Linked DNA regions of Homo sapiens: regions 1, 2 and 4 are each linked to region 3. Evidence: promoter capture Hi-C in 16 types of primary human blood cells and fetal thymus (Javierre and others, 2016). All regions are on one chromosome and are shown on one strand. Each heading gives the region's core, a stretch centred on a gene start or on the middle of the fragment in contact. The rest is flanking DNA. Distances are from core to core; before and after follow the strand shown.

Region 1 (2,700 bases), core at 76-2,575, 260 kb after region 3:
TGAATGTGTTTACATGTGAAAGAATAAATATTAAAATTATACCTATTGTTTTGTTATTATTTGGTGTTTACTCTCCTTCCTGGCTAGCCAGAAAGAGCTGGTGTTTTTTGAAGACCTAAGCCCGGGAGCAAATTTTTCCTGGTCAAAGAGGCCAAGAGTGGGCCCAGGATCTCTGCCAGGACCTGCCAGGGCCCAGAAGATTTGGGGAGGGGAGCTGCAGCATTAGAGGGCTGAGACCCCTTTATCCTTGATTAGGTCCAAAGCTGTTGGGTGGAACTGTGGCACCTGCAGAGTTAACCGCGTCCATGGTGTATCATTGCGCTAAGACAGGCTTAGAGAGAGCTCAAGGGGCCTACATTTAAATACACACCTTTCTGTTTCCACAGCTCATGTATTTTAGGGAGGAAAATTTAATCCATATACTTTTAGTTCATTTGCATTAAAGTCATCACAAAGCTTTGTCTGAGCCATTTTGAGCTTGTGTGGCCTGTTGGAGAACCTTCACTGTCTTTCGAAGGCCTTTTCTTCCTCTCTAGGCAAACAGGAAATCATACTCTGCCCAGGAGCAACCAACCTGAAACCTTCAGCGCTGCCTGCCTCACCTGCCTTCTCACACCTGGAAATGACAGGCCGAGATCAAGTTCCTCTGGAGCCCAGGAAACTCTCATGCCTGACAATTAAATGCCTCCATGATTTGCCCCAAGCTATCTTGATAGCAGTTGTACCCTAACCACCAGGCAGGGTGATGTTCATGGAAACCTCTGTTCCTGCCATTCCCTCTCCCCTGGCTACATTTCCTCCTGACATTTTGCCCATTCTCTGAGGCCCAGCTGCGGCTCAACCTCAGCCTTCCCTTGATCATCCTTATGCAAGCAGTTGCATAAGCAGTTGCCGGCTCAGGATTCAGTACTAAGTGTCATTGGTAAACGTTTATTGGATGGATGAATGGAATGGTGGATGACAGGGGCTGGGATAATTTATCCTATATTTTCTTCTTGCTTCTCCCTCTTCTGAAATGTGTCTGGCCCAGGTTTTGGTACACACGGAGGTTTGAGGAATGCCTAAAGAATGAATGCACGTGCAGTGAATGGATGGCTGTAGAAATCCATTTATAGAGCACATGCTATGGGCTCTGCATGGGGCCAGATGCTGGTATCACAGCTGTGAAGAAGACATGCTTCCTGCCCTCATCTTTCACATTGTAGCTGAGAAGTCAGGCAGACACTGGGAGTTGCACAATCTATGATGTATTTAGTTACTCTTGTGATAAGTTTGAGGAGGGAGGAAAATGAATATGTGTATGAGTGAAGAAAGGAGTAAACAAATAGAATGAGGGAGGAAATGAATATGTACATGAATAAAAGAATACTGGGGAGAATAATTAATGGAATGATGGATGAAGATGAATTCATTGTGAAGGAAAAGACCCCAAGCCGTGTGACACAGTATTTGTGGACACAAGGCCTAGAGGCCACTAGGCCACTGTGGCCTGAAGTCAGCCCCTCTTTTGTTTCCCAGGGTGCAGGAGCAGCAGGTGGGTGGGGAGAGGTAAGGCCCTCTGCATCCTGAGGTTGGCAGCACTGCTACCATCTTAGCATCTCCCAAACTTTAGTCTCAGAAAGGGTGGGTGTTTGTGACTTTAACCTGGAGAATCTCAGGGCCTGCAGGGCTGGATTTTTCTTTTTTTTTGAGACAGTCTCACTCTGTTGCCCAGGCTGGAGTGCAGTGGTGTGATCTCGGCTCACTGCAACCTCCGCCTCCTGGGTTCAAGCAATTCTCCTGCCTTAGCCTCCTGAGTGGCTGGGACTACAGACGCACACCACCATGCCTGGCTGCTTTTTTTTTTTTTTTTTTTTTTTGAGATGGAGTCTCGCTCTGTCACCAGGCTGGAGTGCAGTGGTGCAATTTCGGCTCACTGCAACCTCGGCTCACTGCAACCTCCATCTCCTGGGTTCAAGCGATTCTATTGCCTCAGCCTCTTAAATAGCTGGGATTACAGGCATGCGCCACCACGCCCTGCTAATTTTTGTATTTTTAGTAGAGATGGGGTTTCACCATGTTGGCCAGGCTGATCTTGAACTCCTGACCTCAGGTGATCCACCCATCTCGGCCTCCCAAAGTGCTGGGATTACAGGAGTGAGCCACCCCACCTGGCCACAGGGTCTGAGTTTTGCTCAGCACATGGCATAATCCTCAAAGCTTTCACAATCATATCCACACCACACGTATCCTCCACTGGGAGAAATCAGCTGGAGAGGGAAGGGCCTGCCCAAGGCCCCAACACCAGAGTCCTGACCTCCAGGAGCCTGAGACAGACAAGGCCCATTTTGACTTAGCTCCTTTCGTCCCCCTCTGAGTTCTCCTAATCCTCTCCCTTTGTGCCCCCTCCAGCCCCACAGGCCCTACCCTCTCCTGGCACATGCTGGGCACGCTCCTGCCTTGGAGCCTTGGTGCTCCTAATTCCCTTTGCCTGGGATGCTCCCTCTAGATGTCTGCAGGGCTCACTCTTGCTTCCTTCCAGTCTTCTCTCAGAAGTTACCCTATTAGCGAGGCCTTCTGTGGCTACTGTATCCATAATTTTGTCACTGACCCCTTCCTTTGATATCCCATTCCCTTGCTTTGATGTTTCTTTATAGCACTTATCCTTATCTAACACTGTATGTTTTTCTTATTAGTTTATGATCTGTTTCTCCCATGATC
Region 2 (2,700 bases), core at 47-2,546, 320 kb after region 3:
CACGGCTTTCCCTTTATCATATTCTAAGGGTGATAAGCCATACGAAACCCATCATCTAAGACTGGATGCATACAAAGGCTGGGGCTTCAGGAGAGGTGGAAGTGTGAGCCCGGGGGACCAGAGCACGCTTCTACGAGGAAGCACAAATTAAGTGAGGCCTTGAATACCAGGAAAGAAGTTTTCAGGTGAAAATAGGGGGAATGAGCAGCTAGCTGTGGAAGGGACAGTGGGGATGGAGATGGAGTTGGGAAATTGCAGATACGTTCAGGGAGCCCGAGTAGCTCTCTATGGCTGGAGCATGGTTTTAGGGGAGGGGAGGAGACACATGTCTGGAGAGATTCGTTGGGCAAACTGTAGAGGGCCTGTGAGGGAGCACTGCTGGGAGGGGAAGGGAGGGGGAGAGGAAGCAAATGCACATTCCATATTAATTTTAACTTCTTGAGGAAGGTCCCCAGTACTATGGTAACCATCACATACTTGATGGATGCTACTCAGTGTCTGCCTCCCCCACCGAGCTGCAGGCTCTGCATTTCTCTAGTTGGGCCTGGCACCCTGCAGGCTCAGGTTTGGGATGTGGAAGGCTTTTGGACCCAAGGTGAACTGGACTCTTTGGGCCAGTTCTCTGTATCTAGGTGAGCCAGTGTGCTGAGGCCAGAAGGGGGGCCTGGGAGTCTGGACTCCTGGGTTGGCCTCCGACTCGCACATGCCAAGAGGCCTTGGGTGGGTCCATCTCTTGGTGTTCCCCTTATCTGTTCAGTGAGGGGCCTGAGCCCACAGAAGAATCATGTCCCCTCCAGCTCCCACTTTCCTGCCTTGTTCCGTCAGGTCACCTGTTTAGAGCCTGAGGTCACGACCTGAGTAGCACTGCCCCCTGGTGGCAGCTGCTGGATGGCAGGAGAGACAGTAGCACCTTCCAAGTCCAATCCCCCTACCAGTACCACCTTCCAAGTCCAAGCAGAGGTTGGCCCAAGCTTCAGTGTCTGTCTTTGGGTATGGCTCCAGAGCAGAGGGGTGGGCAACTCAGCAGAGTCAGTCCCTTCCCAGGGGACTCCCAGTAGTGCTTCCAGTGCCCTCCCATGACCACCCACCATCACTGAGGAAAGTCCCTGGGACCACATGACTTCATGGGTCATTCTGTCCCTGGGATCGGGCAAGGGGCATAGGGGGAGGTGGGGCTCAGGAAATACCGTCCTCCCTCATCTTCATCATCATCACCACCACAAAGCTCTTGGAGTCTACGAGCACAGGCAAACCTGCCTTATCCTAAATCCTCACGGTATCTCTGTGGGGTGAGGCTATCCTCTCCCATTTTATTGATGGGAAAACTGAGATTCAATGGGAGGAGGAGATGGCCCCAGGGCATCAGGCTTTTCCTCGACCTCTATGCCACTCCTCTGTTCTTAAGCTGCCTGGGGCTCCTGCTGCCCACCGGGTGGTGTCCTCATGCCTTGACCTGTGAGTCACAGCCTCTAAAGCCTGATTCCACCAGCTCCAGAGAGTATCCCCTCTGCTGCCACTTGGAGCCTGGGCACTCTGAGGCCAGCCCTCCACCTGTGCTGCTGGTCTCTGCTGCCTGTGGGGGTGGCAGTAACAGCTAACACGTGCTCTGGGCCTTGGTTTCCAAAGCTTTCTTACATCCACCATCTCATTAAAACCTCACTGCAGCCTGTGCCAGAATTAGTTTTATTAAACTCACCATAGAGATGAGAAAAACGAGGCTGAGAGAAGGGAGGGACTACCTGGCGCAAAAGCAGGTCCAGGACTCTGGCTCCCCCTGACCATAAGCCCAAGACCCCGACTGAGCCGGGACAACCTCTGGGACGGGGTGAAGGGTGAGAGGCTGAATGCGGGGAGACTGGCTGGCCCTGGAAGCAATCTGTGTTTTCAGGTCTCCCCGGGAGCAGGAAGACTGCTGGACCCAGGAGCTGTCTCCAGTGGCCCGTCTGTCTTGGCCCCTCAAGCCAGGCCCCAGCCTGTGCTGTGGATCTGAACCAGGCCTCCTCCCTCTTGCTGAGACCCTGCTGTGTTCTGACTCCAGCCAGTCCTGCCTCTCTCTGTTTCCACCCATGCTCGTCTGTGTTTTTCTGCCTCCCCATCCAGGCTTCTTCCGATGACTCCCTTTCATTCTCCCCCTTTCTCTCTGCCTCTCTCTGCTTCTCTGTTGCTGTCTCCTACTGTGTCTTCACTCTCTCTCCATCCATCTTTCTATGTGTTTTTGTCTCTTTTGCTTATCTTCTCCTTCACTCTTCGTCCCCACCCTTGGTCACCATCCTGCTCAGCCCCCTTGTCCCCCTCTTGGGTCTCAGGGCAGCAGAGGTGAGGGAACACTGGGAAGGGATGTCTGGGGACCTGCAAGTCCCCAACCCTTCCTTGCCTGGGAACTTGTGTCTTCAGGTTGGGAATTTTATCACTGTTTTTTTGTGGCTGATCAGGGAGGAAGAAATGAAAACTAAGAAAAAACAAAACAACAACAACAAAACAAACCAGGAACTGTTTTGCAAGCCCAGAACCAACTGATATGAAACAAGATTTTACGAATATTTTCTGAAAATAATTTCATTTTGCGATACCGTAACAGTGGCCAGCCCAGCTCCCCTGGCTGGCGGCTGCTATGAGCAGCAGCTGGAGCCCCTACCTCCTCCCCTCCAAGCCCAGCCCATCCCAGCCTTCATTCTGTCCTGCTGGCTAGGCCAGGGTGCT
Region 3 (2,700 bases), core at 143-2,642:
AGGCATCCGCTCAGTTCCTGCTCACGTCCAGCGCCCATCTCCCCTTCCGTGCCCCAGAGGCTGAAATGGGCCCAATCTGTGTTGAAGCTGCTTGTTTCTGGGTCCTGGAGGGAGGCCGGGGGAGAAAGAGGTCTAATAGGATGGGCAGGAACCCGGCTAGCGAGAAACAAGGCACAGGGCCAACCTTAGTTGCACAAGACTTTTGAGAGATGAAGGCAACACTTGGTGGAGGTCAGGGTTCACTGAGGGGGTGTCGGGCAGGGGGCGGAGGAGGTCCTGCCGCCTGTCGGTGGGGCCCAGAACCCTGGGAGCCAGGAAGGTGGGGGGTGTCCAGTCCTCAGGGCAACTGGGGCCAGGGAGAGGGGAGGGAGAAATTAAGCGGATTCCCAGACCCATGAACAGACATCCAGACAAATGCCGTTTCCACAGAGACTCACGGAGAGTGAGATAGTCACAGAGACTGAGACAAACGGATGCCGAGATCCAGAGGGTCGGAGAACAGGCAAACTCGGAGCAGTAGACCGGCCCGCGCCCCGGGAACGCGGCCACAGCGGCCGGCGCTCTGCCCGGCCTCTCCGCGCGGAGAGGGGTGGCGGGCCCGACAGCGGAGGGAGGAGAGGGCGCCGCCGCAATCTCACCTCTCCCAGGCCCAAGGCTGCGGGCGCCAAGTTCGCTCCTGGTGATCACTCGAATGCGTCTCCCCTCGGGCTGGAAGCCGTGCGGGCTCGGGTGGGCGCCGGCGGGCCGCGCTGGGGCGGCGTGGGTCCCGGCGTCTCAGCCTCGCGCTCCCACTGCGCTTCGGCCCGGTGGCCCGGGCGCCGCCTTGGGGAGAGGACGGGTGGGGACCGCCGCCACTTCCCTGGCTGCGGCTGGCGCCCGAGTGAGCCTTAACATCCAGGGGCTGAGCGTTCTGAAGGCGGCGGCTTCAGGGAGCACAGGGTGCAGGAGCGGCGGCGAAGACAAGGGCCCGCCTCCGGCCACTCGAGCCCAGCTCCCGCCGCGGCGGCGGTTTGTTCCCGCCGGGTCCCTCAGCGGAGGCGCTACGCCCGCCCCTGTCGCCTCGCCCCACCCCGCCCAGGGAGCTCCGCCCTAGCCCGCAGCTCTTCCGCCTTAGGCAGCCGCTAGGCGGGAGGGACAATCCCCCACCACCAACCACTGCCACCCCGAGGGGACTAGGGGCTGAGGCCCGCCCAGGTAAGGGAAAGCCTCAGCTCCTTCCGTTGCGCCCCAGCGGCGGGTCCCAGCTCGGATTCCCGGGGTAGTGGCGGGGGCCGCCGGCGGGTCGTGCCCTGGAAGGTGAGCGCGGCCGAGCTGGGCCGCCAGGGGGCGCTGCGGAGCCGGGGGACACCCCTCCCTGCCTGCCTCAGTCCCCCGCCCCCTCCCCGCCCGCGCGCAAAACGCACTCGCCCCAGAGGCAGCGCGGCCGAGCCCGAGCCGCTGCCGGAGCGGAGCCGGAGAGTGGCGGCGGCGGCGGCAGCGGCACCATGACCCTGGGCAGCTGCTGCTGCGAGATCATGTCCTCCGAGAGCTCCCCGGCCGCGCTGTCCGAGGCCGACGCAGACATAGACGTGGTGGGCGGCGGCAGCGGCGGGGGGGAGCTCCCAGCTCGCTCCGGGCCCCGCGCCCCCCGGGACGTGCTCCCCCACGGCCACGAGCCTCCCGCGGAGGAAGCCGAGGCAGACTTAGCCGAGGACGAGGAGGAGTCTGGTGGCTGCTCGGACGGCGAGCCCCGCGCTCTGGCGTCCCGGGGGGCGGCGGCCGCAGCGGGGAGCCCGGGGCCAGGCGCCGCGGCGGCCCGCGGCGCAGCGGGGCCCGGGCCGGGACCGCCGTCGGGGGGCGCGGCGACGCGGAGCCCGCTGGTGAAGCCGCCCTACTCGTACATCGCGCTCATCACCATGGCCATCCTGCAGAGCCCCAAGAAGCGGCTGACGTTGAGCGAGATCTGCGAGTTCATCAGCGGCCGCTTCCCCTACTACCGGGAGAAGTTCCCCGCCTGGCAGAACAGCATCCGCCACAACCTCTCTCTCAACGACTGCTTCGTCAAGATCCCCCGCGAGCCGGGCAACCCGGGCAAGGGCAACTACTGGACGCTGGACCCGGAGTCGGCCGACATGTTCGACAACGGCAGCTTCCTGCGGCGTCGCAAGCGCTTCAAGCGGCAGCCCCTGCCGCCGCCGCACCCACACCCGCACCCTCACCCGGAGCTGCTGCTGCGTGGCGGGGCCGCGGCGGCGGGGGATCCCGGCGCTTTCCTGCCCGGCTTCGCTGCCTACGGCGCCTACGGCTACGGCTACGGGCTGGCTCTCCCGGCCTACGGCGCACCCCCGCCGGGGCCGGCCCCGCATCCGCACCCGCACCCGCACGCCTTCGCTTTCGCCGCGGCAGCCGCCGCCGCTCCTTGCCAGCTGTCGGTACCCCCAGGCCGCGCCGCCGCGCCTCCACCCGGACCTCCGACGGCCTCGGTGTTCGCAGGCGCGGGATCGGCCCCAGCTCCTGCGCCTGCCTCAGGCTCGGGCCCGGGCCCGGGCCCCGCAGGCCTGCCCGCCTTCCTGGGCGCGGAGCTGGGCTGCGCCAAAGCCTTCTACGCGGCGTCCCTGAGTCCTCCCGCAGCCGGCACCGCGGCGGGTCTGCCCACCGCACTTCTGCGCCAGGGCCTCAAGACGGACGCGGGCGGTGGTGCAGGCGGCGGGGGCGCCGGGG
Region 4 (2,700 bases), core at 6-2,505, 280 kb after region 3:
ATTTGAAGTATGAGAATAACTTGCTGCATCATTGCTGGCTTTGAAAATGGAGAGGACCATGTGAGAAGGAAAATGAATGGCCTTAAGGAGCTGATGGCTAGCAAGGAACCAGGGACTTCAGTCTACAACTGCAAAGAACTGGATTTTGCCAACATCCTGATTGAGCTTGGAAGGGCATTTTTCCCAGAGCCTTCCCATAAGACCCCAGATGGCTAACACCTTGATTTTAGCCTGTGAGACCCAGGGCAGAAGACTCACATAAGCCCACCCGGATTTCTGGGCTACACAATTATACCATAGTAAATAGGTACTGCTATAAGTTGCTAAATTTATGGTAATTTGTTTCATAGCAATAGAAAACTAATATGCCTAGCCTGTGTTCACTCTCTCAGAATTATCTTGATTTTTTTTTTTTCCTAATCAACCTAAGAGATGAATCATCACAGAATAGGGAAAGAATACAGTATTGAACACAAATACACCTGGGTTCCAATCCTGGCTCAGTCACCTACTAGCCATGTGACTTCAGCCAAGTTACATAACCCTTCTAGGAAGAGCTTTATTCATCAATAAAATATGAGGATGATAACTTTCCTGGTCAGTTTGCTTGGAAAATTAAATATAATGCACATTGCATGTCTGACACATAGTAGGGGCTTAAATGTTTCTTTTACTTGTTTGGGATAGCAATAAGCTAATATTAAGTAGTCAGTTTAAAGATGTTAGAGTAAGTGCAGTTATTTTTTTCACTACCATCATTAATAGTCGGACAATTTTAATAGCACATCACTGACTTGACCTAGAGGGAGAGCTACTAGTGGAATTGAGGCCATGCTGATGAAGAGGGGTACTTGGTAGAGTGCCCAACATCACAGATCTCTAAGCCTATGTCAGAGTCTGGGTCTTGGATTAGTCACTGGACACACTATGAGACCAGGAGGAAGGAAATAAGCGGTGAAAATGACCCAAAGTTAAATTGAGAAATACATGCTGTACTCTGGAAATGAAATCACCTGATCTCCCTTTCTGGACCCAGGGAGCAGGTGACCCCAGCCACGGCTTCTTCTTTCAGGAACTGCAAAGCAGGCAGGACTGAGCTCATACTGCCACATCCTGCTCAATCTAGGAGGGTATCAGGAACCAAGCCATTTCCCTTTCTTCTCCCCAAGTCTAAACTTTACAAGTTATCAGAGAGAGCATAGAACAAGCAATCTTGAGTGTGTGGAGAAGGAAGACCTATTGAACTTTTCAGAGCTCTTCGGGGTTCAGCATTTTGTCCCTCTCCTTTTCCTCCTATCCTCATAGCCCCACTCCTCATCTACATGGACCCTTGGGGCCGTTGGATTTGGTGGTATCCTGTAAAGGTCTCCAGGCTTGTCAGAAAGCCTAGGTTCTGGTCCGTGGTGTGCAGAGCTTGTTTGCACCCACTGGCCAGAGCTGACCGTAAGTGCCTCTATTCAACTGCACTATCAAGTGATCTCACTTCAGTTTGAAATCTGCCATGGTGAGAACACACCATAGAAACTGGCAAAGACTGCAAATCAGGCTTTCTCTTCTCTAGAGAGCTGGTGTTAAATTTACCAGTAGACTGATGCTTCTAGCCTTGGCGGCCTGGGAAGAGGCAGATTCCTGCCCTTTTCTGGGCCTCAGTTCCCTCTTTAGTCAGTGCCTTAGCTACCCTCTAAGGGCCTTTAAAAAAAGCTCATTAGATACCAAAGAAAAGAGAGAAAGTGTGGATAACAAAATTATTGCTTTCATGGTAATACTTTCACAATAAAAATAGGGTTCACAATAGTCACATTTAGAAAGAGCTCTCTCTTTGCTAAATACCATGCTATGTATGTCATCTAAGGCCCTCCCTTGCCTTACTTAACCCCCCCTCACACCTGATTCAATCAGCTAGTGAGGTACGCAGGGCTGAAGATTTTTCCCCACTTGGCTCTGAAATTTGAGTGTCTGCATATGATTCTGGGCTCCACCACTTTCTCAGTTAGTTTGACTAAGTTATTTAATTTCTTTGTCTCTTGTTTCCTAACATGTAAAATGGAACAATAATAAAAGTTTCTACTTCTTCAGGTTGTTATGAGTATTAAGTGAGAAAACCCATGTAAAATGCTTGGATTAGTGTCAGTCACACAGTAAGGGCTAAAGGAATGTTGAGAAATGTCTTAACATTGTCTATCCCTGCATCTGTGGAGCCCACACAGGCCTGTTCCATGGTAGATGCCTAATAAATGTTTGTATTGGAAAAGAAGGGAGGCCAATAGACAAAAATGACAGAGAGAAATATTTGTATTAATAACTAAATGAATCTTTCATGTTTACTCACCTCGGTCTTTCCCATTTACTTTCACCAACTTATCTCATGACCGCCCTCATAGATGTTCTACAAAGAGTTGGAAATTCATTTACGTAGTCACTCAACAAATATTAATTGAGCCCCTCTGGTGCCAGGTCCTGGCTAGATGCTGAGGCTACCATTGGGAATGAGCTCTGGGTTTAGCTGGCGTTAGAATCGTGGAGTCCTTGGTCTTCTGTTGGGCAGACAGGCTCTGAGGGGCCACAAGCTTTGTGCTTGCAGGTACAAGGGGTGATGTGCTATGTTCCACTGCCACCTGCCACTCTGATCCCTGGGTTAGATGATCCTACATTTGAACCTTGGCTCTGCTATTTACAAGTGATGTCTCTTGTTCTTGGACA

What was found. The method cuts DNA at HindIII sites, captures the fragments that hold promoters and counts their contacts. A CHiCAGO score of 5 or more calls a contact.
Region 1: a contact is called between a fragment that was not itself captured here and the fragment with the promoter of FOXD2 in region 3, in 11 of 17 cell types (M2 macrophages, naive CD8 T cells, M1 macrophages and 8 more). The highest score is 10.6, in M2 macrophages.
Region 2: a contact is called between a fragment that was not itself captured here and the fragment with the promoter of FOXD2 in region 3, in 3 of 17 cell types (fetal thymus, total CD4 T cells and megakaryocytes). The highest score is 6.5, in fetal thymus.
Region 4: a fragment that was not itself captured here is called in contact with the fragment with the promoter of FOXD2 in region 3 in 16 of 17 cell types (M2 macrophages, endothelial precursors, megakaryocytes and 13 more); the score reaches 22.1 in M2 macrophages.

What each region holds. Positions count from the first base shown.
Region 1 is chr1:47,698,857-47,701,556 of GRCh38, forward strand. All of the region lies in intron 2 of LINC01738 (long intergenic non-protein coding RNA 1738), which reads left to right. Among named protein-coding and RNA genes, the nearest start is that of LINC01738, 12 kb to the left of the region's middle. The HindIII fragment of the contact is 1,743 bases long and covers 455-2,197 here.
Region 2 is chr1:47,754,740-47,757,439 of GRCh38, forward strand. No RefSeq gene overlaps it. Among named protein-coding and RNA genes, the nearest start is that of LINC01738, 68 kb to the left of the region's middle. The HindIII fragment of the contact is 655 bases long and covers 970-1,624 here.
Region 3 is chr1:47,436,652-47,439,351 of GRCh38, forward strand. It overlaps FOXD2 (forkhead box D2), which reads left to right and starts at 1,393. Exons shown (of 1, transcript NM_004474.4): 1 at 1,393-2,700. The coding sequence starts at 1,485. LINC01389 (long intergenic non-protein coding RNA 1389) reads right to left here and starts at 666. Exons shown (of 5, transcript NR_126355.1): 1 at 639-666. RefSeq lists silencers at 1-32, 513-1,412, 1,443-1,622. The HindIII fragment of the contact is 12,776 bases long and covers 1-2,700 here.
Region 4 is chr1:47,717,046-47,719,745 of GRCh38, forward strand. No RefSeq gene overlaps it. Among named protein-coding and RNA genes, the nearest start is that of LINC01738, 30 kb to the left of the region's middle. The HindIII fragment of the contact is 2,620 bases long and covers 1-2,565 here.